7 separate regions of the Homo sapiens genome follow, and all the other regions are linked to region 1. Evidence: promoter capture Hi-C in 16 types of primary human blood cells and fetal thymus (Javierre and others, 2016). All regions are on one chromosome and are shown on one strand. Each heading gives the region's core, a stretch centred on a gene start or on the middle of the fragment in contact. The rest is flanking DNA. Distances are from core to core; before and after follow the strand shown.

The links. The method cuts DNA at HindIII sites, captures the fragments that hold promoters and counts their contacts. A CHiCAGO score of 5 or more calls a contact.
Region 2: a fragment that was not itself captured here is called in contact with the fragment with the promoter of PTPRK in region 1 in 3 of 17 cell types (fetal thymus, non-activated CD4 T cells and total CD8 T cells); the score reaches 9.9 in fetal thymus.
Region 3: a contact is called between a fragment that was not itself captured here and the fragment with the promoter of PTPRK in region 1, in 8 of 17 cell types (fetal thymus, naive CD4 T cells, naive CD8 T cells and 5 more). The highest score is 23.1, in fetal thymus.
Region 4: a fragment that was not itself captured here is called in contact with the fragment with the promoter of PTPRK in region 1 in 1 of 17 cell types (fetal thymus); the score reaches 18.2 in fetal thymus.
Region 5: a contact is called between a fragment that was not itself captured here and the fragment with the promoter of PTPRK in region 1, in 1 of 17 cell types (fetal thymus). The highest score is 16.7, in fetal thymus.
Region 6: a fragment that was not itself captured here is called in contact with the fragment with the promoter of PTPRK in region 1 in 1 of 17 cell types (fetal thymus); the score reaches 12.6 in fetal thymus.
Region 7: a contact is called between a fragment that was not itself captured here and the fragment with the promoter of PTPRK in region 1, in 2 of 17 cell types (fetal thymus and naive CD4 T cells). The highest score is 8.8, in fetal thymus.

The regions. Positions count from the first base shown.
Region 1 is chr6:128,519,217-128,522,113 of GRCh38, reverse strand. It overlaps PTPRK (protein tyrosine phosphatase receptor type K), which reads left to right and starts at 1,515. Exons shown (of 30, transcript NM_002844.4): 1 at 1,515-1,855. The coding sequence starts at 1,756. RefSeq lists enhancers at 1,153-1,747, 1,748-2,341. The HindIII fragment of the contact is 3,706 bases long and covers 1-2,056 here.
Region 2 is chr6:127,718,938-127,721,834 of GRCh38, reverse strand. It overlaps THEMIS (thymocyte selection associated), which reads left to right. Exons shown (of 6, transcript NM_001010923.3): 5 at 2,012-2,147. Among named protein-coding and RNA genes, the nearest start is that of LINC02536, 57 kb to the right of the region's middle. The HindIII fragment of the contact is 619 bases long and covers 1,121-1,739 here.
Region 3 is chr6:127,858,358-127,861,254 of GRCh38, reverse strand. The region is part of intron 1 of THEMIS (thymocyte selection associated); the gene reads left to right. Among named protein-coding and RNA genes, the nearest start is that of THEMIS, 41 kb to the left of the region's middle. The HindIII fragment of the contact is 1,035 bases long and covers 971-2,005 here.
Region 4 is chr6:127,877,592-127,880,488 of GRCh38, reverse strand. All of the region lies in intron 1 of THEMIS (thymocyte selection associated), which reads left to right. Among named protein-coding and RNA genes, the nearest start is that of THEMIS, 22 kb to the left of the region's middle. The HindIII fragment of the contact is 3,125 bases long and covers 1-2,897 here.
Region 5 is chr6:127,895,384-127,898,280 of GRCh38, reverse strand. All of the region lies in intron 1 of THEMIS (thymocyte selection associated), which reads left to right. Among named protein-coding and RNA genes, the nearest start is that of THEMIS, 4.2 kb to the left of the region's middle. The HindIII fragment of the contact is 7,514 bases long and covers 1-2,897 here.
Region 6 is chr6:127,912,404-127,915,300 of GRCh38, reverse strand. It overlaps a transcript of THEMIS not described here. Among named protein-coding and RNA genes, the nearest start is that of THEMIS, 13 kb to the right of the region's middle. The HindIII fragment of the contact is 2,565 bases long and covers 160-2,724 here.
Region 7 is chr6:127,931,872-127,934,768 of GRCh38, reverse strand. No RefSeq gene overlaps it. Among named protein-coding and RNA genes, the nearest start is that of THEMIS, 32 kb to the right of the region's middle. The HindIII fragment of the contact is 1,446 bases long and covers 720-2,165 here.

The DNA.
Region 1 (2,897 bases), core at 266-2,765:
TCTAGGAATGTTCTCTAATTAAAGAAATGGAATGGTGATGGTGTGTTGAAAGGTATAGGTTAATGAGTTAAAAAAAAAAAATCTACATTGCACCCTAAGGAAGGATGAACTTAACTATGCTGAACTGAATTGACAAGGGTTGAGCTAGTCAGTGTGCTAATGAGCAGGCTACTATTCTCATAGAATTTTTAAAAGTCTTTTCTGCCTGATATGTATGTGTGTATAATATGTATTTATATATGTATATATTTGTGTGTATATTTATTACATTTTTGTTTCCACAGGCTCTGTCATAAGTCTGGTCATTAATAGCATATATTTGATTAAAAGAATATGTGGCTTGGTAAATTATGTGAATGTTATATTAAAATGAATTTCACATTGTCTTGATTTACAAAGGCTAAGATGTCTGAGAAACTGAGAGATGTCAATCAACAGACTATTGTTTTAGCAATTGTACATAACACATAAAAATTCTGAATCAAAGTTATTATGTTATTCAATTGTGACCATACCTATTTTTTGTGACATTTTACAAAAATGAATAAAGTATGCACCATACAGTCTTACCACAGAAGTAAGGCAGGGTGGCATATGGCGAAACCACTTCAAGCTGCTGAAGTAGTTAACTGTGAAATATTTTACTGTCATAATATAGCATTATTTTCTGCCAGATGAATCATTCCGAAGAAGCTGTTTTCATGGTCAGTGTAAAAGTCCTTTTGTTAAATACTTATGTCTTAACTACCTACTAGATATTAAAAAAAACAAAACCACACACACACCAGACCTAGGTGCAAGGAAGGGATAATAAGCCCTGATGCAGTTCTTAGGTGAGAACTGGAAAGGGGCCGGAGGGTTTCAGAGCAACAAGCAAAGTCAGTGAAGCAGAGTAAATCCAAATACTTGGCCAATGACAAATAAACCAGAAAGGAGACACGCCAGCTGTTCACGCTGGAAAGTTACTGATCGTTTATTCTGGTTCAAGTTTTATTTATTCTATGAATAAGGGACAAGTTTTCGATGGGGGTGGGGTGTCTTATTCCTTATTACAAGAATAAGGAACGGGGAGTTTTCAAGGCAGGCGGGTGTTTCCTCAGGGCGCTTCCACACTCCCCTTTCAATCAGCAACCGCTCGGGGGGACCTCCACCTTGGGACGGAACCCCAGGACGCCTCTCCTCGGACGGCGGGGGTTTCTCTGCGCGCGTCCTCGGTCGTCTGGTCGCACGGCTTACCGAACTCTCGCCTCTCAAATTCTGAGTTCTGGAACAGGGCAGCGAGCTGCGCCGGCTCCCCTTTCTCGCTCGCTCCCTCCGAGCAGCGGCTGGCGGCGGGGCCCAGGCTGCGAACAAAGGCGGCGCGGGGCGCGCGGCCGGGGCTGGCGCGCGTCTCTCCGGCAGGAGGCGGTGGCGGCGCCGCGCCCGAGCCCGCATTCCTCAGAAGCGCCCGGAGCCCGCGGGGCGACGTCACCCCCGGCTCCGCCCCCGTCCCTCCCCGAGCAAAGTAACTCTTGACTAACAGGAGCAGCCTCCGCCGAGCATGGAGAGCTGCCGCCGCGGCCGGCCGGCGACGCTGGCGACGCTTTCGCCCCTGAGGTAGTTTGGCGACCGCGAAGAAGGAAAAAGGGCGGGCGGGCGGCTGTCCTCTCACCGTCCTCACCCCGCGAGGCCCGGCCCGCTCCTCCGTCGTGGATTTCGCGGCGATCCCCCCGGCAGCTCTTTGCAAAGCTGCTTGAAACTTCTCCCAAACTCGGCATGGATACGACTGCGGCGGCGGCGCTGCCTGCTTTTGTGGCGCTCTTGCTCCTCTCTCCTTGGCCTCTCCTGGGATCGGCCCAAGGCCAGTTCTCCGCAGGTGAGTGGCCGGGGGGCGTCCCCGACGAACGCCTGGAGTCCTGGGCTCACGAGGGGTGAGCCAGGTCCCCGCTAGGGCTGGGGACAAGGATCGTGGGGAGCTCTCTCTGTCCGGGGGTGGGGAACACAGGGTAGAGGGAGGGCTGTCCCCAGAGTTCGTGCCAGGTGGGACGCGGGGCACCCATTGTTCCTCTCCGAAGCTTGCTCGGGGCTCAGGCTGGCACGGTCTAGCCGGAGAGTGTGGGGACCTGCTGGCTTCGGCGTCTCGCGTGGCCTGCGCCGGGCTAGTGGGGAAGAGAGAAAGAAAAAGTAGTTACGACTCCCGTGACGGCACTCTGTTGCTTGTGGTGCGGGTTTGTTGCTGTCTGCCACTTGGGTGTTTAAACAAATTCCCTGGGAAGCCATTGTCAGAAATGTGGAGATTCGAAGGGACTGACCTCGGCGCGCTTTGCCAGGTGCTTTTTGTCCCGGGAATAACCTCCCCTGACTATTGTCTAACTACTTCCCCGTCCCTCCCGGAGTCCCCTTTTCTCCTCCCCCAGCTCTGGGTTGCTCCCGGGCTTGCCCTGTGCGCTCGGGCACTGCTTGGAGCATGTTCTGTGTGTGTGTTGGCGGAGCCCTGTAAGATGTGTTGAAATGCGGTTCTAAGGACCCACTCTGAGCGTTCATGGGCATCGAGGTCTGGGCGCCTGGTGGAGGAAGCCTGACTCGCGCGTGGGAGCCCGCTCCTCGGGCAAAACCACCGCCAGGCTGGCCCCGCGCTCCCCGGATCCGGCCTGGGGCTCTGGCCCCGCGCTCCCCGGATCCGGCCTGGGGCTGGAAGCGGACTGTAAATGTCTGCCTTCTGCCGGAGAACCCAAAAGGAGACAAGTGGAGCGTCTCGCTGTAGCCCTGGGGGTTCTCGGTCAAGCCGCTCAGAGAAGTCCGTGAACCCTGGCTCTCCCGGTCCCGCCCTCTGTTCCCCTCCAGTTTTGTTATCCTTCGTGTAGGTTGGTTGCTTCTTTCGTTCTCTCCTCTGGGGGCTCTGAAGTTTCACCAGGTGG
Region 2 (2,897 bases), core at 181-2,680, 800 kb after region 1:
GTTCTGAGAAACTGTGATTTAATACTCATGTCATAACTTGAAATAATAATATACTTTTCAAAGGTATGTAATTCAGAATCAGGAAAGTAGTTGGATGCTGAAATCTGCTTCTTTCCAAAAACTACATGATAATAGAGGCCTGACAATAAATTTTAAAAATTACAGTGATGGGCTTATATTTTTGTGGACTGTGGAGGAGCTAAAAATAAACAAGTGGGGTGGTTTAGTTCTAGTTGATACCAACATCCAAACTGATCTTTTGAGCTGTCTTTTGTAGTATTGCTAGGATCCCTTCCTTGGTCATTAGAAAAGGAATTGAGAAATATCTACAAATGACTTACCACACTCTATTTTAATTATCTGCATAAGCAATGTAAGAAATTGTGTTTGAATAATTTGGAGTCTGAGAGAATGTCATGTTATATTTGTATTCTCACACCACATCCATTATCTGGGATACTATAGATAGACGGTGGTTGAATGTACCAGTTATCCGTCAGCATACAATGCTGCATAACCACCAGAAAAACATAATGGCATACAACCAAAATCACATTCATTTAGTTCATGAAGCTGTGGAATTCATCTGACTTGAGCTGGTCTCAGATGATCTAGACTGGTTTCACCCAAACGTCTGGGGCTCCTCTGGCTGTTGTTTGCTTCAGCTTGGACAACTGGGGTGACCTAACTCTGCCCATCTCATGTTCAATCTGCAGCCAGCTAGTCTAGGCATAGCCTCATGGCATAGTGGAAGTTAAGGAATGAGCAAAAACAATTGTGCAAGCCTCTTTCAAGCCTCTGTGTCAATATCCTATTGGGCCAGAAGAAGCCACATTGATAGGCCAAAAGTCAGAGTAGGAGGGCCCTGCAAAATTCTATAGAAAGGACATGGATACAGAGATGGGTGAAGAATGAGGGCTATCCATACATCCAGTCCACCACATTAAAAATCTTAAGAAATCAATCATGAAGAACACTGTCCAAAGTTCAGGATTCATATCGTAAGGCTCAGCACTGTTCATTTTGTTAACTCAAGTGAATTATTTAATCATTCTAAAGCCTAATTTCCTTATTGGCCTTTCTCAAGCTTTAAAAGTGGTTGATTTTATAAAATCAAGCTTTTAATGAATTTCATGCAATATATGGTCTACAGGAGAAACTTTACAGGAAAGTTGTCCATTATACTATCCTTTAGTGAGCCAACATGGCTAGCCTGAATGGCCATAATTGATTAGCTAATATTTACGCTGAGAATCTTCACATATTCTGTAATCTTATTCAATTTGACAAACTTCTAGTCTGGACTTGGGTATGAATTAATTAAGTACTGGAAGTTTAATTTCCAATTGAAGTCTTCACTTTTTGTTCCCATCTGATGATTCTTTGAAGCATACAGTGTGTCAGTATAATGTCAAATGCTGTGACATCTCTTACATGTGAGATGAGTTATAGGGACCATTGATGCTGTGCCTTAATAATTCATTGTTATGATGAATTATTACTCTGAAATTGACTAAAGGAGCTTTGTCAAATTTGCATAATGCTGATTAAAAATGTGGTTTAATTTATAGTAGATGTTATGATTTGTTTTATATAAAGAGTACAGATGATACAGAAATGAAATCTGCTTTTGATTATATAATATGTAATTATGTAATATATAATGAAGTGCTGGATTAGTTAACTATAATAATAAAAACTAAGTAAAAATTTTCTAAATGAAAAATATTTTATAAGCTTCACAAGAAGAAAGTAATATACACAAATAGTCTTTGCAGATGGTTTTCTATGCCTAAAATGACTTCTTATTCTAGTTACTTAGATTGCTTCAAAAATTGTACACCTCAGTTTCCAAAATATATTGATGAACATATAATTTGTAGCTTGCTTTGACATGTCAAATGTTCTGTTTCAGACATACAGAAATGAATTGCCATGTGATAAATCTTTCATATCTCTATGAAGCATTTATTTTGGACTGATAATTTACTTGTGACCTGTGTCATTTCAGCGTCATCACGTAGACATAACCAAGAAACTTCACCCAAATCAAGCTGGCCTGGATTCAAAAGTACTGATTGGTAGTCAGAATGATTTGGTGGATGAAGAGAAAGAAAGGAGCAACCGTGGGGCCACAGCAATAGCAGGTACTGATGTGACTATAGGTCAGTTAAACCACGGTGGTTTAACTGTCCACATGACAAAGGTGCAATGGACAGATTCTTACTATTATTTTATTTGGAATATATGACTCAGCCCAAGTGATCACCCTGCTCTGCCAATCACATTGAAATGAAGATTTATGTGAAGCATGATATTGAACACTCACAATAATAATAGTAATGTTTATTGTTTTCCACTATTAGATTTTTCACCTCATTTATGGTTTTCATGGCAATGAAATATTTCAAGATTACTTGTATTGTTGTGATAATAATATTTTTGCTGGAACAATGAACAAGAAGAATTACTGTCTTGAAAAGAGGTTAAAATAATTGAGATGTTTTAAATTTAAAGAAGCGTCAGATAAGTCACTGAATGCAAGCTTGAATTATGATGGTTTAGTTTATAGAGATTGTGATCTGATATTTTTCATCTCTACTGAGTGCAAAACAAAAGCAAACGGACTTGTGGAGGAGTTGATAGCATTCAATTAAGCTACCCAGACTAACTTCCATATGGCAGAAATTTGGGATGAGCTAGCAAGGGAAATAAGAAGTTTGTTTCTTGCCAATATTTTAGACACACCAAACCCCCTCAATTTCTATTACACTTTATCTTTGAAACTTCACATTTAGTTCATACAAAAATTGAAACTGTAATTATTCTTAAGCATACGGTTTGCTCCTTTCTCCTCCTTATTTGGTTTTGTAGCTAGCATGCTTTCTTCTCCAAGG
Region 3 (2,897 bases), core at 239-2,738, 660 kb after region 1:
AACATTTAAGATATAAAATGTAGGCAGAGATGTTGATGTGTATAAAATGTACTTGAAACCAAGTCCTTCCTAAAACAATAAGCCAACTCCCAAAGCAATATTGTTTATACATGAAATTATGATATTATTTATGTCATTTTGAGGGTAAAAATTTGGGTGAAATATGGGAAATATTTGATCAATAATAGTATCAGAAGATGCACAGTCACTGATTTGTTCCACAATCATAGATAAGTGTTCTGTGGATACACAGGAGGGATATTTATTTCATACACACACCCTCAAATCCCTTTGCTCTGATAATGTTTACTCAATGAGCCACAATGATGACTTCTATCATGACAACCACTTGTAAGCCCTCTTAGTACAGTTTTATTTAATCTATTAAATTAATAAATTTACCATTAAACAAATACGTTTTTAGCTAATGCACGAAACAGTGATTTATTCTTCTTCTATCACTGAAACTTAGTCACCTGAATTTCTTACACATCACTCAGAGTGACTGAAATGTTGTTCTTTTCTGGGTTTTGGTCCTAGTACTTATTTAATCTGATTTTATTTATTTATTTATTTATTTTTGGCTCTCAGGCCCCAGCATTTCCAATCTGTAGGAACTTTTATTGCTTCCCCATGTTCAGATGTTTTAAGTAAGACTCACCAACATTTCCTACAGTCTTTTGCATATTTCAGTCTTTAGGCTTGACTTCCTGGATAATACTTAAACCCCCAATTCACGAGAAAAATCCTATATTCTTAGAGGTTAGGGAGATTTTACCTTAGTTCTTAGCACAGCCATAACTTTTCTTATTATGTAATCCCAATGCCTTGCCTTCTTAATACTGATATTTTGGGGATGAGAGAGTCTCTATGGCCTGGAAAGATCATTTCCTAGCATTTCTCAGATGTACCTTTAGTGCTATATCTAGTGTCCAACTGGGAGTATCCACCCTTAGTAAAGCTGAAAGCTTGCTTTTTCGTGTCTACTTATATGTACCCTGCATTAAAATATCATGCTCACTTATTTTTAGACACATTCTTCATAGAGTGGGAATGACATTGTCTCTGCCTTACAGGAAATGCAGACCATCTCTTTGTGGAAGACTGGCCATATAAATGTCTATTGCAACCATGGCCTCTTTTGAACTTCATTCCTGTGGTCGCCTATCTAGAGGTTCATTTGGAAAATTGAATTTATCACCATAATGGTCTCAATGCCACATCAACTGCCATGTCTAGGTACACAATTGCCAATAAAATAGTTTTACACTTAAACATTTCCTTTAGAGGGATGCTCCTTCTTGATAATTTGTGCTATCCTGAAGCAAAAAATAATCACACCTATTTATAATGAGCAAAGTTGCATCTCCACTGGCAACCCCAGTGGATATGGTTCTATCAGACACTATCAGCCATACTTTGCAGATATAATTTCCTAGCTTATAAAAATATATCTCAGATGGTCACATGAGCTCCCTCTTTATGCAAACTTAACTAGTAGAGATTCATATTATAGAACCACTACCCTCATTACTCCTTGTCTAGAGAATTCACAACATAGTCAGCTTGTATATACTTCACTTGTATATTTGATATCAAACATACCAAATAAAGATATAACCCATGCAAAAACCTTTGACTTGACCATGCTTTAAACTCCTTATGTAGAAGGACCACTATTATGTTCACAACAATTAATTGTCATTTTACAATGACACAAAATTATAACAACATTCACTAATCATCTAATAAGTGATAAAAAAAACTGTTTTACTAGCTGTGGGGGAGGTATACATATAGTTAAGATAATGTCTCTTCTCTAGGAAATCATAATAAATTGCAAAATATACATAACACTCCAATTGAAAGAGTGATAATAATCACATAAGGCTTTAATGGAGATACGCATGAAGTGCTATCAGAGCACAGAGGAGAGAATTAATTCTTACTTAGGTGTAGGGATCAAGGAAGGCTTTGAAGAAAATGATAAATATGGGCTGAAGCTTTGGAATTGGTTGGACTTTGACAAGTTAATAAGGATGTAAAGGGATGGGTGGCCTGGTGTAGTGGCAGGGGGTGGTAGGGCAGGCAGTAATGGAGGGAGAGTGCATTTGAGTAAAGGGGAGAAACATCCAATGCAGTTTCCTATTTGCTGACTGTCACACGTTTTTAACTTTGTAGGGAAGATGGAAGAAAATCTATTGAACCAATTGTTTTGGCTGTTCTGATGTGATCACAGCATTGCTTATATGGATTGTCAAACAAGGGATGAGCTCATAAAAGGATATTAATGTGTCGTTTTTATTGAGCAAAGTAGCATTACAGAAAAGGTGATTTCAAAGGCACATGGCTCTTTCATTACAGCCTTCAGGGGCAATGTTTGATCACTGAAAACAGGCTGCTTTGTTCCAGCTTTCTCTGATGTTTGGCATTATTCTGAATACATATGCTTTGACTTGGATAGAATCAGTCTGTAAAGATTTAATAGATTCGAGATTTGCTTATTCAAAATACATGTTTTATGGTTAAAATGAAATGAAAGCCATTTTAATATGTATGTCTATATATACACAGATATATTTCAGACACATATCTCAGCAATTTTTTTAAAAGCAATTACACATATTATGTGTTTGTTTTGAGATAATGAAAGTTGGATATTTTTAAAATTCACCATTTTAACTTATCAAGAAGGAAAAAATATATTTTAAGACACATTATATTGGTGATAATAAAATACAAGATTTCCAGTTTTAGCGACTTAAGCTTTGCTATATGTCCCTGTCACCTATCATAGACATAACTTTCTAGCTTTCTAGTGCTGGACATCTCTGAACACTTTCTTTATTAAAAATGAGTTAACAGCTTTCTTGGTTGAAGAACATTGGAAGTCACGA
Region 4 (2,897 bases), core at 259-2,758, 640 kb after region 1:
ATGTGAGTTCAGAAATAACTGTTCATTAGCAGAAACCACCCTGATTTTTAAAATGACTAACAGTTGTCCTAACCCATCTATCTAAACACAGCATATATATTTATTCCAGTAATTAAATAAAGATCAGCAGCTATTTGGCTTGCTCAAAGAGTTTATGGAATTTTGAAATAATGGTAATTTGAACTAATCTTAGATGAGATACAGGCTTGCCCTCCATTTTTCCCTCCCTTCCATCCTCCTTTTAACTTTAGACAAATGAGATTGGATAATTTTAATGTACTGTTTGACGCAAATTTACTTTGAGCACCTGTTGTATGCTGTGGTGAAACATGATGCATGGAAAAGGGGAACATATAAAATAAAAGCCCCAGCCATCAAATTTTTCATTCAAAGAAAAGATACATAATATAATTAGAGGATAATAATAGAGATGGCACCTAAAAAGTGGCAGATCAACTGTACATGCATTGCATGCCTAAAAAATGGAGGAAAACGGCATGGCTGTAACCTGCGTGACTGGGCTACACCCGGGGGAGGAGTCTGGGCAGGGTGGGCTTCGCAGCTGGGAGGAAATCAGGTGCCCGAGGTGGGGGCGCATTTCCCGGAGCTGGTAGGGAAAATACCAAACTGTGGAAGTGGCCTAGGCAGCCGGGTTGTAAATAGTTGAAGACCAGCTTGGTTAGGATCCAGTCCAGCAGCTCCAGCTCACGGAAGGCCAGAGGCAGCTTCTCCATCCTTCTTCCCCGACTGCACTAAGTCCTCGTTTTTTTTCTTTCTTTTTCTACACCCTGCCCGCAAATAATTTGCTCATTTTTTAAAAAAGCAATATTCTACATTTCTGGTAAATCTGTTCTTTTTTTTTTTTCAGAGTGACACAGCATTCTAGATCACTGAAACTAATCTCATTTTACAGAGACATTTACACACATTTTTAGAAAATTATTTCAGCCATTATCAATAAAGAGAAGAATAAAACTTTCTTTTCATATTAACAGGAGCAACAATTATCTTTCTTCATGATACTTAAATATAAGGAAACAGATAATCAATGAGTAAATGAATGTCCAAGAATATTCATTTATCCAGCTGACACTCTTTGAGTGGCTACCTAATACCTGTCAGGATGCTGAATTTGGAGCAATAAAGATCACACAATCATCATGGCCCTAACTCTCAAAAAAGTCCAAGCCTCTTGCAGAGTTAGACATAAGAGTTACAAAGGCATTTTAAGATATGCTATTTGTTAACATATGCTCAACAGGTTAGAGGATCATTCCTGGATTGATATTGTTTCTGTCAACAATAATTAGAACACCGAAATTTTCATGTAATATACCTCAGAGAACATTTTCCTCTGTGCATTAGAAATAGCATTCTTTTGAAAAAGATTTTTTTTCCTAAATTGACATCTAGCAAATTACTTCTTATTGTAACAGAGGCTTTACCATTTAAATTAGTATTTTAATCCACAAAGATATAAACAAGAATACAATTTTTAATTTCTGCTGTTAAGAAATTTCTCTTCTTACTAGAAACAATAAGCAATTCATTAAAAACCTGACAGTGGAAATTAACTACTGATAGATGCCATTCATCTGACAAGTGACCTATAGCATTTTATTTTTACTGCTGGGCTTCATGCTAGTTGCTTTTCTAATTCAGATCCCTTTGAAAGACAAAGCAGAATTATTCAAGAAAGCATCATGTTTTTAGAAAACCACAGGCTCACTGCTCAGTAATATTCAGAAATTTCTATTTATTAATTTATTGAGAAGTATTAATCTCATCTTATTTATTAAGAGTCACTAGAAAAAAATTCATGCCAACCTTTCTGGAGAAAATGACTTTTGGTCCCAACTGACCAGAATCCATTTTGTCATTCACCTTAATTTGGTTATTTTTGGTCGATACTCATAGCCTTCAGTTCTTGAAAGTAGATGATAGCTATCAGTCTCTTACCCCATAAACCTGAAGGCCTAGTACAACCAAAAAAAGTCTAACATCAAATTTTGCCAAATGTAAAAAGCATTTTTTTTTTGCAAATAGATATAATAACAGCTATATGGCCACGTGTCAGCTTGATGTAGTCCCAGCTGTCTTTTGAAGCTGTCTGACAGTACCTTGCCTGAAAAGTTCATTAGAGACTTCTGCAACTGTGTTTCAGCAGCAGGATTCAGCTACCCTTCTAGTTAGAATCAGGTAACAAAACTGTTTTGAATCAGCTGCTGAGCTGGAACGGTAGAGCATAGGGCCCATGTTGGGTTCACAAGATTCTTATACCACTTTGCAAGAACAGGAATGCCTATGTTATATTTGCAACTAATGAACACATTTTGAACACCACTGATTTCACCCATGAAGCAGCCTTACTAAAAACCATTATTCTAATTAACAAAGCCTGTATTAATAGGAAACAAAAGCATGTGATATTTGCGGTAGTTGTTTTAAGAGCATGGACCTTTGATTAGTCTTTGCATGTTGTGTAGCCACCCTGGGTTTTATTTCTGATTAGTGTATCTCAAATGAGAACTAGCATTTTCCTGATCCTTTCCCTGTGGTTAAAACTCTTGAACAGATGCATACAGGCATACTTCATTTTTTTTTGTGCTTCACAAGTAAATATTGCTTTTTCTTTTTTAACAAATTGAAGGATTGTGGCACACCTGTATCGAGCAATTCTATTGGCACCATTTTCCACCAATGTGTTCTCCCTTTGTGTCTCTGTGCCACATTTTGGTAATTCTTGCAGTATTTCAAACTTTTTCATTAGTATATTTGTTGTAATCATCTGCAATCAATGATCTTTGATGCTACTATTGTTATTGTTTTGGGGCACCACGAACAGTGAGCATATAAGATGGAAAATTTAATAAATGTTGTGTGTCCAACTGCTCCCT
Region 5 (2,897 bases), core at 178-2,677, 620 kb after region 1:
CTTCATACCTTATTATTTTACTACTATGTTTTACTTCAATTAAGAGGGAAAAAACTAAATACCTTGATCATTTTCACAGTGTAAACACATTCATGTAACTGCCACCCTGGTCCAGAAATAGAAAATTCCAAGTATTCCAGAAGCCCTATCCTGTGCTCTTTCTCAGTCATTATATACTATCTCCCTCAAGTGTAACCACTATCATGACTTTTGTCCATTTATGACCCTTACATAAATGGAAAATTACAGTATGTATTCTTTTCTGGTTGGTATATCTGTTTAACATTATATTTGTGAAACTAATCCATGCTGTTTTATATATAGTTCATTCATTTTCAGTGTATGTTATTCCATTAGATGAATATACTACAATTTATGTATTAATTCTACTGCCAATAGGCATTTGGATTATTTCTGGCTTGGAGTTTCCAGTAATTTTGTCATGAAAATTCTTGTACATGTGTGCCTACGTGTATATGCATTAAGTAGGGCATAAAAGTAAGTAGGATTACTATGTCATATTGTGTGTGTACATTCACCCTTGGAAGCTAATGAAAAGCAAGTTTCTTAAGTAACCCAATTTACTTTCCTACAAGCAGTATATTTGTGTTCCAATTAACTCATATGCTTAGTAACACGATATTATCAGTCTTCTTAATTTTAGTCATTCTGGCAAGAGTATAGTGGTAGCTCATGGTTTTAGTTTTCATCTCCTTGATGACTAATAAGATTGAGCACCTTTTCATATATTTCTTGGATTTTTGGAAATACTCTTTTTTGCAGAGGTGGTTTATATTTCTTGCTCATTTTTCTGTTGAATTTTATACATTTTTGTTATTGATTTGATGGAGTTTATGTGTATATATATATTTGGGATATTTACTCTTTGTCAATTTTCTGTGTTGCAAATTACTTTCTTAGTCTATAGTTTCATATTTTATTTTCAAAATTGTGTCTTTTAATGGACGAAAGTTTTCCACTTTCGTGTTAGTGTAGTCAGTTTATATTTTCCTTTTTCTGTGTTGTCAACAATTTTTTTCTTTACCCTAAGTTCATGAAAATATGTATTATCTTCTAGAAATCCTATTGTTTACCCTCACCTTCAGATCTGTAGTCTATCTGGGTTTATGTTTTTGTATATGGTTTGAAGTTGAGAGCAATATTTATTTTTCTCTTCTACAGAGTCAATTGGTGCAGTGACATTTATTGAAAAGCTGCCTTTTCTCTATCATCTTACTCTGTTAACCTTACTCAGAAATAGTGTCCATACATGCCTGGGTCTTTTCCCTTTTATGCTGTTCTATTCATCTACTTGCTATCCTTACATCAATTTTTCCTGTCTTAAATAATGTGGATATGCAATATCTAATATATACTTTCTATTAGATTATATTTAATAATATGCTACAGAGCCATGGTTCTCAAACTTGGTTGTGAAATAAAAATACCTGGATTGATTTTAAAATATAAATGCCTAGGTTTCTCCTCAAGAGGTAAAGATTTAATTATGTAAAAGGTAAGGCATCACCATCAGTTTTTGAAAATCTTCCTGATGATTATAACACACAGCCAAATTTGATAACTACTGCTTTAGAACAAGTTCTCTCAATTTATTATTCCTCTTTAAGTTTAGCACTTTGAATTTTCACATACATTTTAGAATTAACTTATCAACTTCCTCAAAAGTCCTCCTGGAATTTTGATTAGCTGTGCTTTGGTTTGGAGAAAATTGGCATCATTTTAAATTAAGTCTTCTGACCCACTAATCTGGTATAGCTCTTTAGTTATTTAAGTCTATTTCATTTCTGTCAATAACATTTTATAATTTTTTGTACAGATCTTGTATTTTTTCAGATTTATTCTTAGTTATTTGATTTTTTCATGCCATTTTAAATGGTATTTTTAAAATCATTTTCTCTTTGTTGTACTTATTGAATTTTAAGAATATATCTTTAACATTTTGTATATGTTATGTGTACATTTGCATTGTCTGTGAATATTGATGGATTTTGCTTCTACTATAATACTGAATAGAGGTAATGATAAAAAAAAGATCTCTGTATTTCATTCATGACCACTGAGAGCAATTTTCAGTAATCCACCATTCATGATGTTTGTTTTAGGTTAAATTAGTTCTAGTTTTCTAACAGGTTTTAAAAACTTGAATATATATTTGACATTTATCAAATATTCTTTTTGTAACTTTTATGATAATTACATAGTTTTTTTTACATTAAAAAGTGTTAAACATGCTTTTAATTGTGGAACACAACCAATGGGGTCATATTTCACTGAATTTGGCTTACTATTTTTTTTTGTTAGAATGTTTGTATCTCTTTTAGGGAATAATATTGGCTTATAGTTTTTATTTTTTTGTAATATCCTAGCCAGGCTTTATTATCAAGTTAGTTGAACTTACGGAACTTCTTGGTTGGAGTCTTTTGTTATTTTCCTAAAGATTTTATGTAACTTTGGTGTTATCGCTTATTTAAATATTTAGTAGAATTTTCAATGAAGGCCTCCTGAGCTGAGATTTCTAATATAGAAATGTTTTAAATTATGACTTCAATTTTTTAATAGTAAAGTCTTTTTATCCATGAGCATAGTTTATCTCTCATTTAAACAAGAGAATAAAATATCTTCTACATAATTTATCACAGTTTAAAAAAGTGTCTCTATAGAGTTCTTATGTATCCTAGGCTAGTTCCTAGAATGCACACACACATACTTATATCATGTGTATATATATATTGCTATATTGAGATCGTATTTTGTCTGTTTTCCCATTGATTGTCTCTGAAGTGAAGAAATGCAGTTAAATACGATTAGTAATATTTATAAATTCCCTTGTTAATTCTAATAGTTTATATTTTTTATTTCACTGGTTTTCTTAAATA
Region 6 (2,897 bases), core at 193-2,692, 610 kb after region 1:
ATATGTATGTTCTTTAGCCTAGTTGTACCAAAACAAACAAACAAACAACAACAAAATGATACTATACTGTCATCATTTTGCTTCTATGTCTGTTTTCAATTTTGTTTTTTTTCCAAAGGGGAAGTATGATAAACCTCCTTCCACACCCCAGTAAAAGCTTCAAAAGTGTTTTCTGTGGTTCTTCTAAAAGTAAATTTCCTAAAAATAGGACAAAAATGGATCCATCAATGACGAACTGTTACAATGGGACCTCAATCTGTGTAAGATTAAAATTATATAAACTTGATTCTAAAAATGGTTCAATATCAATAAGTAGCAGCTTTTCAGATTCACTAGTAATGTGTAAAATCAGGTCAAAGTGTGTTTCTGGTCAATTACTGTTGTGATAACCATAGCAGGCACACATAAAATATTTTACTTGGCACTTTATCTGTAATATTACTTTGTTTCAAACAAAATAGAACTTTATGAAGATTATATAGTTACCTCCTGGCTCTACTGTAGAAAAGCATGTAACTTTACTGTAAAGTGGGAACAAAGGCGGCAAATGTCATTTACATACATTTGAAAGTTCCTTTCATTCCTTATATTAATGTTTGGTCAACGATGGACTACATATGTGATGGTAGTCCCTTAAGATTATAATACCATGTTTACACTGTGCCTTTTTCTATGTTTAGATATGTCTAGACACAAAAACACCACTGTGTTACAGTTGCCTACATCATTCAGACAGTAACATGCTATACAGGCTTGTAGCCTAGGAGCAATAGGCTATACCTGATGGCCTAGGTGTGCAGTAAAAGTACACACCTAGGTTTGTGTAAGCACACTCTATGATTAACGCAACAATGAAATTGCCTGAGGATGCATTTCTCAGAACATATCTCATTGTTAAGTGACACATGACTATGTTTCATAATGAAATCGTCCCTTAGGAATTTACAAAGTGGCAAGAAAAAGAAAAACTATGTTTTTCTTAGTATCTTCACAGACATGCGTTTCCAGGAGAGCAATACAGGTTGAGCATTTCTGATCTGCAAATCCAAAAATCCAAAATGCTCCAAAATCTGAAACTTTTTGAGCACCAACATGACAACACAGTGGAAAATTACAAGTCTAGCCTCATGTTGAAGTCAAAACTCATTCAAAACTTTGTTTCATGCACAAAATTATTAAAAATATTGTATAAAATTACATTCAGGTTATGTGTATAAGGTGTCTACAAAACATAAATAAACTTTGTATTTAAACTTGGGCCCCATCCCCAAGATATTTCATTATGTATATGGAAATATTCCAAAATCTTAAAAGAATCTGAATCATTTTTTGTCCCAAGCATATCAGATAAATTCTCAACCTGTATAAGACTTGGCCTCCACCATTTTATGTGCTGTTTGCTAAGGAGTTTAGGAGCAATATTTTCTCCCAATTAAGTTCTAGCAAGCACACAGTCCTTGATCATCATTTCCAATCAATACTGGTATTCTAAAATAGAGTACTTGTGATTGAATTCTAATGCATGAGCTGTAAAATGTTATACAAGAGAAAAATATTCAGCTTATTTATGAAGTTCATATTTACTTCAAATACAGATTAAATAATGCTTTGGTGATTAAAAGCCTGAATTTACAGTTTACTTCAACGGAGAAATCTCTCAGTGAGACAAACACTCTAACATTGGCCTGTGTCCAGGTCTGGTCATGATTCTATTCTGTCATCTTGGGGAGGAGAAGGTAAGAATGTAGGTAGAATTTAACCTGGTTCAGGTTCAGATTATTCAATTAAATACAACAAATATGTCAAGTCCATTCATTTGTTTTTTTTGAAAACATTTCTTAGCATAGTGCTGGTGAAGGTATTTGGAGCTATTGAGTGCATCCAATCAAAGTAGACCCAAATCTCCTTTCCCTAAATGTAGAATTCAGGAACAAAGGAAAAAGCATGCAAATGGACACATAAAAAATATTCAGCGAATGGAAACTGAAAAGGAAGAGAGAATTGTGAAAATAATATAAAGATTAGAAAAGGCTTCATAGAGGTAAAGGAACTAGAACTTAAGTGATGAGTATAAGAGACTTTTTTTTTCCATCCAGTATCTATTTCCTCTTTTATGAGGGATTACTTGATGCTCTGCTCTATGTCCAGGCATTTCATGTCCAATGTCGTAATGGTCCTGTGACCTAATCTGGCCAGCAGAGCATTACGTTCACTTGGCCACTGATGTCATTCAGGCATGGAAAAATATCCTAGTCAGACCCCTGAGAAAAGTAATTCATAACAATCTTTTCTCACTGCATTAGGGATACAGATCTGGAAGAGCAAGTCATCCACTTTGCTTAGACGAGAAGATTCATGGTAGAAGCATTGGAATTCAGGCTAAGATCTGGAGGTTTTAACTTCAACATGAAAGCAGTTGGACTTTGTAAGGCAAAACAAACAACATTTGGCCTACAGGCACTATTATAAAATACAAACAGGTATACAAAATTTGTCATATTTTCAGGAAGATTATAGATTTTCCTCTTACATTTGCTTAACACCTTTAAACTTTTTTCAGTTGTGTATTATGTGTATTAATAATTTAAGTTAGGCCATAGAAGTAGGTCATATTCCAGATTAAGAGGTTTGAGAATTCTCAAAGACAGGTTTGGGTTTCTCATGGCACTTCTCAGACCAATTCTGGTTACAAGTCATCCCTGGGTCTAAAATAATATGGAAGCTTGGAAATAACAAGGTAACTTACACAGATCTTCAATTATCTCAGCCTACATATGTGACTCAGAACTTGAGTAAGATGCAGATTGACTTCCAAATTTCTTCCCAAAGTTAACTCAGCCTGCTCCCAGGAATGAACAAGGACAGCTTGGAGGTTAGAAGCAAGATGGAGTTAGTCA
Region 7 (2,897 bases), core at 193-2,692, 590 kb after region 1:
CGAAAGCAAACAGATACTAACTCTTTGCCGGGATCTGGTTTTGGGTGTTCTTTCTTATTTGCCCGGAAACAAAAATCATGATCCCTCTGCTTCACCACACCCTCACTGCTGGGGTTACCTCGAGCTTCACTTGGTTACCACATTCTGCTTTTCTACTTCTGATCTTATTGTGTTTCTCTTTTGCTGATTATACTTCCCTTCAGATAGAGGTATCTTGTTTCTAACTTAAGCTCATTTCTTTGCTTCTTTAAGTGATGATTTGAATGTGGCATTCTTGACCTTGGTTGAACCACCCAAACAGCAAGAGGGGCCTAGACCCTTTCTGGGGAGTCTCATGAGACATCCACTCATGAACTGGGCCTCTGTAGCTCCTGTTTAGAGAATTCTGTAGCTCCTGTTTAGAGATGCATAATATCTCAAAGATAAGCAAACAAACAGCAGGGTTCATCACCTCTTTTTGCTCTCCAGATAGTAAGGGCTTCAAGATTGACAAACAAGAATAACTCAGCGAACCCCATTTGCCACCTCCAAATATCTCTAGATTCTAATCTTCATGTTTTTTCATATCATGTTTAATAATACAACAGACAACAATTAGAGTTTTTCTTTAACTGTGGAAAGTGACTACTTCTTTCAGTTTAAAAAAAAGCGTAACTTAGTCATAATTATGACATTAGAATCTGGGTAAATGAGACAATGGCCTTGCTTCTGAAAAAGCTTAGTTTTTTCTATGCCTCTTCCTTTTTTTCAGTCCTGTCATTCTCTTCTCACACCTCTGAGACTCAGTATATTCATTTATCATTGCTTTGCTCTAACAGGGAGAATTAGAATATTCTATCAAAGTAATTTAACAACATAGGAATTCACATGATGCAAGAAGTACAGTGACAGGCAAGCCAGGATTGGTACAGCAACTCTATGATGTCAACAGTACTCAGTTCCTTCCATAATTGCTTTTCTTTTAAATACGTTTTTAATTTTGGAATAGTTTTAGTTTTGCAGAAAAATTGCAAAGATAGTGCAGAGGATGCTCATATACTTCACATCCAATTCCTCCTGTTGTTAATGTATTATGTTAGTATGCACATTTGTCACAACTGAAAAAAAAATTGATACATCAGTATTATTATATTGTATTTGGATTATCTTAGTTGTTTCCTAATGTCCTATTAGAGTTCCAGGATACCATATTACACTTACTTTGTCATTTTTTTTAGATGTACAAAATTTTTGATGATCTTGAAAGTTTTGAGGAGCACTGGTCCAGAATTTTATAGATTGTTCCTCAATAGTGATTTGTCTGATGTTCTTCTCATTATTAGACTGGAGTTATGGAATTTTGGGAGGAAGACTACAGAGGTAAAGTGCTATTCACATCATATCATATTCATAGTGGCAGGAGGCAGACAAATGTGTAGGCAGATGGGGCGGGTCCCCAGTGAACCTTGACCTTCAAGCTGAAGACAGTTTAAAGCCTGAAAACCAAGCCATGAGTCAAATCCACAGACCAGATTGAGAAACTCTCTTCCCATTTGGCTTGCTTTCCTCTGATTGATCTTCACCCTTCACCTATTTTACATATACCTACCTTTCCCTAATTAATTTTTTACACTGCCATGGCCACCTTTGAATGGCGCCTTTGTTTTAGCCTTTTTTGCATACTCACAAACGAATTAGCATGCACTTCCCATTCTGAGTCCATAAAAGCCCTGGCCCAGGCACAAGGAGAGTGAGACCACCCAACTTCGAGTTGGGGCCAACCCTCGTGTCCTCTCTACACTGAGAGCTGTTTTGCTGCTCAATAAAACTATTCTCCACCTTCCTCACCCTTTAATTGTTAGTGTAAACTTATTCTTCTTGGACATGGGACAAGAACTTGGGACCCATCAAATGCAGGGGGCTGAGTGTGCAGTTGCAGTGGCCACGCGATTTGCATTAGAGTGCAAGCCAGGTGCAGCCCAGTGGCCTGAGTAGACTGGGCATCTCCAGCAATGAAACTGGGCCCAAGGAGGGCCTGGGCAGAGGTTTTGTCAGCTGGAGGTCTCCAGAAGGGAAAGTGGCCAAGAAAAATCCTGCATCAATATCAGTGGTACATGCTATCCACATGACTTATCACTTTTTGATGTTGACTTTGATTACCTGATTAAGGTAGTGTTTGCTAAGCTTCTCAACTGGAAAGCTAAATTTTTCCCACCTTTCCGTACTGTACCCTTTGGAAGGAAGTCATTATGCACATGTCACATGTAAAGTGTGAGGAATTAAGGTCCATCTCCTTGAAGGGGTCAATATCCATATAAAATATTTGGAATTCTCCTGCCTGGGATATTTGTCTATTTTCCCTTATTTATTTATTTATTTATTTATTTATTCAATCATTTCTTTATCTCAGTATGGACTCATGAATATTTGGTTTTGTTTATATATATATATTTTTTATCATACTTTAAGTTCTAGGGTACATGTGCACAATGTGCAGGTTTGTTACATATGTATACATGTGCCATGTTGGTGTGCTGCACCCATTAACTCATCATTTACATTAGGTATATCTCCTAATGCTATCCCTCCCCCTCCCCCCACCCCACAACAGGCCCTGGTGTGTAATGTTCCTCTTCCTGTGTCCAAGTGTTCTCATTGTTCAATTCCCACCTATGAGTGAGAACATGTGGTGTTTGGTTTTTTGTCCTTGCGATAGTTTGCTGAGAATGATGGTTTCCAGCTTCATCCATGTCCCTACAAAGGACATGAACTCATCATTTTTTATGGCTGCATAGTATTCAATGGTGTGTATGTGCCACATTTTCTTAATCCAGTCTATCATTGTTGGACATTTGGGTTGGTTCCAACTCTTTGCTATTGTGAATAGTGCCACAATAAACATACATGTGCATGTGTCT